Regions from separate parts of the Homo sapiens genome. Here region 2 is linked to region 1. The links are contacts of gene promoters, found by promoter capture Hi-C in human tissues and cell types (Jung and others, 2019). All regions are on one chromosome and are shown on one strand. Each heading gives the region's core, a stretch centred on a gene start or on the middle of the fragment in contact. The rest is flanking DNA. Distances are from core to core; before and after follow the strand shown.

The links. Contacts are between HindIII fragments. The study calls those that stand out against the background at their distance.
Region 2: a contact is called between a fragment that was not itself captured here and the fragment with the promoter of TRIM62 in region 1, in 1 of the 25 tissues and cell types used here (aorta).

What each region holds. Positions count from the first base shown.
Region 1 is chr1:33,180,400-33,183,716 of GRCh38, forward strand. TRIM62 (tripartite motif containing 62) reads right to left here and starts at 1,644. Exons shown (of 5, transcript NM_018207.3): 1 at 626-1,644. The coding sequence starts at 1,033. It also overlaps a transcript of ZNF362 not described here. RefSeq lists an enhancer at 167-336 and silencers at 419-618, 1,209-1,278, 1,509-1,818. The HindIII fragment of the contact is 6,299 bases long and covers 1-3,317 here.
Region 2 is chr1:33,216,093-33,219,431 of GRCh38, forward strand. It overlaps a transcript of ZNF362 not described here. Among named protein-coding and RNA genes, the nearest start is that of TRIM62, 36 kb to the left of the region's middle. RefSeq lists an enhancer at 3,316-3,339. The HindIII fragment of the contact is 7,640 bases long and covers 1-3,339 here.

The DNA.
Region 1 (3,317 bases), core at 394-2,893:
CACCTTGGCCTAACCCTCGGTACTCAAACCTGCCCTCTCAGCACTTTGGCACCCTAACTTATACCACTCTATTAGGTTTCACCCTCACCTGTCCAGCACATTCTAGCCCCCGTACTCCTCTTAGTCCTGATGCACATCTGATCCGGTCTCCGCCCCCACAGAACCCCCAGCCTGCCAGAGCTCAGCTACCCGGTTTAATACAGACCCATCCTCGCGACCTCGCCCTCAGTCTGACAGTGGCCCTGCCTTTGCCCAACTCTGATTCCGGTTCGTCCACAACCCTGCCCCAGCCCAGTATCTGGTCCAGTTCTGATCTCACTTGTTTCCGCCATCCCATCCGCATCCCCGACTTCTCCCTAACCGCGGACCAGCCGGTACTCCAGGTCTGTCTCAGATCCCTCAGGGTCCGGACTGCCCAAGGCCCCGCCCCCACGGCCCCGCCATGCGGCGGCCCCGCCCCTCCCTGCCCCGCGTTACTCCTGATAGGGCCCTGACCTTGCTGGCGGCCCCGCCCCAGGACCATTCTGACTGGGCCTGGCCCGCGGTCCAGCCCTGACCCCACCCCCCGCCCGGCCCCACCTCCAGCCCGGCCCCGCCCCTTCCCCAGGCAGGCCGGGTAGCGCACCTGCAGCTCGTCGAAGGCGTCGTCGATGCCGGTGACCTGATGCTGCTCGTGCAGTGCAGGCTCGTCGCAGAAGAAGCAGAGAAGCGCGCGGTCCGTGAGGCAGAAGAGCTTGACCTTGTCGTGCGCCTGGCAGGGTCGCGCGGCGCGGCGCGCGTTGAGGATGGCGTCCAGCGGGAAGGAGCTGTAGCGCTCCACGATGTTGGCCAGCTTGAGGCTGGGCGCCAGCGCGGGCTCGGCGAACGTGCGCCGGCACTCGGGGCAGTCGCGGGCGCCCTGCGCCTCCTGCCGCACCCAGTGCTCCGTGATGCAGCGGCGGCAGAAGTAATGCTCGCAGCCCAGGCTCACCGGGTCCTGGTAGATGCTCAGGCAGATGGAGCACAGCAGCTCGTCCTTGAGGCTGCACGCCATGGCGCCAGGGGCAGCAGAGAGGGGGGCCCGAGGGGCAGGGGGGCGGCTGAGAGAGCGCGGCGCTGTCGGAGGCAGCACCGAGGGCTGGGCGCGGGGACGAGGCCCGCACAGGCAGGGGTAGGAGCTACCGGAGAAGGGAGGGGGTGCTGTCCGGAAGGAGGGTAACGCGAGGAAGGGGTGCGCGGCTGAGACTCCGTGGGACGCCAGCCCGGGAGGGCAGTCTAGAGGTAGTGGGCAGCTCAAGGCGATGGGCGCTGGGAGGAGGCTGTGAGCGGCTGAGGGACGGAGATCCTGACGGGGAGGTTCTAGGGGGCGGGGCAGTCCTAAGGGATAGGAGCTGGGAGAAGGGGATCCCGGAGCGGGGTGGAGCCCTTAAGGGGGTCGAAATCCCGGGGTGGGGGCGGTGCGGGGAGGGCGAGAAGCTGGGGATGGGGAATCCTGGGGGAGGGGGCAGCCAGGCCGAGCCGTACATTGGCTGTGACCGGCAGAGAAGAGGAGGGGTGCCGGCCCGCTCAGCTGCCGGATCCCGGCCCCAAACCCTGGCCCAGCGCGACCCCTTACCCCCGCGAGCTTAGCAGCCACCGCTTCGGTCCAGCGCAGCCTCTCAACCCGGAACCAGCCGAATCCGAGCTGCCGGTGGCCGCGGCTGCCTCCCCGCCCCCGTGGGCGGGACCCAAGCAACTCCGCCCCCGCAGCGGGCGGGGGAGGGGCGGGGCCACCAGCCGGTTGACCCCGCCCCACCCCCACCATCCTCCAGCTCCCAGGGAAGCGAAGCCCAGCTGTTCCTTCGGGGTGTGTACTTGGAACTGCATCCAGGTCTCGCTTAGGGTCCCCGCGGCGAGGCGGAGCAGCTAATTTGAGAGCACAACAAATAAACAAGGAGCATCTTTCTGGATCATCGATTTGAAGATGTAGAAAAAATCATATTTTGTATTAAAACGAACAAGAATATATTTGGAATACAACTTCTGCATAAAATATAAAGATAAAACTCTTGAAATGCCCTGCTTGCTTAGAGCGAGTTCAAGGCCCTCACACTCCTAAGCCCTGGGGTCCCATTTCCTCTTCACTTTCTTAAGGAGTGCTTGGGGAGAAGTTTGGAAAGCCCTGGCTAACATCTGGCCCCGGAGGCTGCCTCCATTGGCAAACAATTCTGGAGTGCTGTATTTGTGTGTGTGTGTGTGTGTGTGTGTGTGTGTGTGTAAGGCGGTGAGGGGTGGAGCAGGAGAGAGGGAGAAAAAGTAATAGGAGAACTTGTCTTGTGTGCCAGATGGAGAGGGGATAAGGGATTTCTAGGCAGAGGAGACAGCCTGTGCAAAAGCATAGAGGCGTGAAAGGGGAGGGCGCAGTGAAGGAAGTGCTAGTAATTCTGTACTGTTGGGGGTGGGGTGGAGAAGGAGCCTGGGTGGGCTGGAGGGCATTGTGGGTCATGGTAAAGAATTTCTTGAAGGCATGGGGCTTTCAGGCAAGGGAATGACCTGGTCCGATTGGGTTTCAGGAAGTCTTGGAGATAATCATTATACCATCTGCAAGGTGAAGAAGACAGGGAGCTTTTCCAATGTGTCTGCGGATGCACAGCACTCAGCACACAGTAAAGGTGTGTAGCTGAATAACCGCATCAACGCCCTGGGTTGCAGGAGGAAGGAAAGACTGGGCACCCCTAAGGTGCTGTTGTCATCGTGCCTGCAGGAGGTGAGACCCGAACTGGGGCCTCAGCAGTGGGTAAGGAGAGAAGACTAGGGTATTGCAAGTACAGACACGGTGACATTTGGTGATGGTTGGATACGGGGGTGAGGGAAATGAGCCATAGAGGGTGGCTACCAGTTTCTGCCTCCTCCAGAAATATCTTCATTGGTGTTAAACTTTATTGAGGTACAGTTTATGAAAAAGCTCTCAGTTTAGTTCTCTATGGTTAACACTTTCTCCATCACACCCTCATCTGGCCCAGAATCTCCATCATTGCGAGAAAAATAGTTGGTTGCTCATGCAACAGCAGTTTCTCAACATTTTCTTATGGGCAGAGCCCTGATTTTGGTCAGGTGGCCCCCTTCCCCAAGTGACCCAAGGAAGGCTGACCCCAGCCCATTTCCAGGAGTGAGTCTTGTTTGGTCCAAGTCCATTATGGTGGTCTCATGGAGTGAGTCTTGTTTGGTCCAAGTCCATTATGGTGGTCTCATTCCTCTTGCCAGTGACGGTTTGGGCAGGTCCAGCCTGAAAAACTAAAGGGGAAGCCTATGGCAGAGAGGGGTTTTCAGGAAATGGTCTCTTTACTTTGCAAAACAGT
Region 2 (3,339 bases), core at 276-2,775, 36 kb after region 1:
AGACCTCCTATATTCTTCTCCTCTGAAAAAGTTTAGAGAGTTTTTCCATCCCTTGCATTCTAAAGTAAAAGGGGTGGGAGAGGAGGGGAAAATGAGACAGTTTAATTAAATGCAGTTGACTCTTCATTTGACCAGCATCTCTTGTCTGCTCACTGTATGCTAAGCACAGGGCTAGCCACAGACGGTACAAAGATGAATAAAGTATGCTCTTAAGAAACAGAAAAAAGGGCCGGGCGCGATGGCTTATACCTGTAATCCCAGCATTTTGGGAGGCTGAAGCGGGCAGATCATGAGGTCAGGAGTTCGAGACCAGACTGACCAACATGGTGAAACCCCATCTCTACTAAAAATACAAAAATTAGCCAGGCGTGGTGGCAGGCGCCTGTAATCCCAGCTACTCAGGAGGCTGAGACAGGAGAATCCCTTGAACCCAGGAGGCAGAGGTTGCAGTGAGCCGAGATTGTGCCATTGCACTCCAGCGTGGGCCACAGAGCAAGACTCTGTCTCAAAAAAAAAAAAAAAAAAAAGAAACAGGAAAAAAAAAATTCCTCTGGGAGTCAAAGAAGGCTTCCTGGAGGAAAGAACATTTATTTAGGATGATTTTAAAGAAGGATCAAAAGCTTCGCACTTATAGAAGGCAGGAATATAATAATAAATAGAAAGAGTTGCATGAGCCAAGGTACAGGAAGGTAAAAAGACTTGGTAGAGTCAGCACATAGGATGGGCCCCCTGTGCAGGTGGCTGGAGGGGCTGGGCAAGGGCTGCAAATGGAGGGTGGGTTCACATCACTGAAGGCCTTGAATAAGGGCGGTGGGGAACCACAGAGAGCTTTTCCAAGCAGAGGCGACGCGTGGGAGTAGAGTTTTCAGGGAATCCCCCTAGGGTGGTGTAGAGAATGAATTGCTGAGGCGGTTCTGGAGGCAGGAAGACTGGGGATGGAGAGAGGCCACCATCCATCCCTTACAACCCAGCTTCCAGCTCAGCATCAGGAACAGGCACGTGGCACAAAGATGTTCCCAGGGAGCAATGACTTCCTGGCTCAGTGCTAAGGAGGCTAAATTGGAGATAATTGTACTCCCAGCAAATCAGTAACAGCACCATCTCAGTGGAAACCTGCTGCCTAACCTGATCTAACTTCTGACCTTCAGATCCACCTTATGAAGTGAGAGCAGTGAGGAAGGAGCCCTGGCCTAGGGTCTGAAGGCCTGGGTTTTGGTGCCCAATTCAGCACTAGCTCACTGTGTAACCTTGGCCAATTCCCTTGCCCAATCTGAGCCATGTAATCTGTCACTCCTGCCTCACACAGAGGGTGTTAGACCAGCAGGCGTTTTCCTCTCTGACCATCTAGGACTCATTCCAGGCAACTTTACACTGGGTCAGATGCAGCTCCAGATCTCTGCACCCCACCTTAATATCCCAACCACCAGCTTGCTGTCCTAGCAGGGCCACCCCCATCCTACCACTGGGCTCCCCCACCTGGGGAAGCAAGATCTTCTGACTGTTCTCTTTCTTCAGAATGAAAACAACTTTATTGTTTTCATTATTAAAATAATATAGACTCATTAAAAAGAAATTTAAACCATAAGAGAAGTATACAGGAGAAAGTAAAATTTAAGTGAAATCTTATTATACAAAGGTAGCCACCATTAAGATTTTGGTAACAGTCTTCCAAGATAACTCCTTATGTTCACACACACACACAAACACACACCCACAACTTTATGTAAACTGGATCATAGTATTTTAACTATGGTGCAATCTCAGTTTTTCACTCCATAATATGTCATGGATATCTATGTAAAAAATATATTTATCTTATTACTGTCAAAGTTTTACTTTGATTACATACTCACATACAAATATACAATTTACATAAATGTATAAACGTGATCAGCATGAACATGAGCAGAATCCAGTTACGTCTTTATTTTTAGTGGCTCCCTATTTTTCTCTATAGTCCATAGATGGACCATAAACACTGTAGCAGCAAACACCTTTAAACATATATTCTTTTGCATTTTTAGGATAAATTTCTAGATGCAGAACAGTTAGGTAGAAAAATGTAGGGGCTGGGCATGGCAGCTTATGCCTATAATCCAGCACTTTGGAAGGCCAAGGTGGGAGGATCACTCGAGTTCAGGAGTTCAAGATCAGCCTGGGCAACATAGGGAGATACTGCCTCTACAAAAAATTTAAAAATTAGCTGGGCATGGTGGTGTATGCCTATGGTCCACGCTACTTGAGAAACTGAGGCAGGAGGATGACTTGAGCCCTGGAGGTCGAGGCTGCAGTGCCCTGTGATTACACACACCACTGCACTCCAGCCTGGACCCTGTCTCAAAAAAAAATGTGAATATTAAAATTTTTGATATTGCCCTCCAAAAAGCTAGTACCAATCTCACTGCTACTGACAATACATGAATGCCTGTTTCTCAGCACTCTTTCTAAAAGAAGGCATTGTCAATTTGTAATCTAACAGGTGAACTTGTCATTATTGTTTTTATTATCATTTATTTGGTTATTAGTGAAATTGATCATCTGCTTATTGGCTATTTGGATGTTTTCTTTTGTGAAATGGCCTGTTTATGTCCTTTGTCTATTTTTTTCTGTTGGATTAAATTTGTTTGTTTCTTATTGCTTTTTAAGAACTCTTTGTATATTAGGGATTTAACCTTAACCCATCTGGTTTCTCAGGGTCCGTGGAGTTGGGCAATGTAGTCCCCTGTGAAGTCAGATTCCCAAGAGATTGGAACAGTTCTGCCTCTGGTCAGTGGAGGGCAGCAGTGGCAGCAACATTCACTTTCAGGCTGGACGCACAGGTCTGCCCAGGAGCTGGACATACACACACACACACACACACACACACACACACACACACACACACACACATACACCACCCCCTGCCCCCCCGCAAGAGACTTCCTTCCTTTCTCAGGAAGCCACTTGATTCACTGACCCTTAAGGGCCCCAAACACAAATTATTTCCCCTTAGTCTCTAGAGATAACCTCTAAACATTGAAGAGAATCAGGCTCTGAAGTTAGACTGGAGTTCAAAATCCAACTCTGTCATCTCCTGGCTGGGGGCTGGGTGTGACATTCATGACCTCTGTACCCTCAATTTCCCCATCTGTGAAATGGGTCCAGTGGTACCCACCTTCACTGGGTATGATGACGGTAAAGTGTACGGTTGGCGCTCAGTGAGTGTGAGCCCACAGTGGGCCTGCCCAGCCCACTTCCCAACCTCTGCCCGCCATTCATTCATCGGCGGACCAGAGACAAGTTGGCTCCTGCTGTCTCAAGCCTGCCCACATGTTTGATTAATTCTGTGTCTAAGAAAGA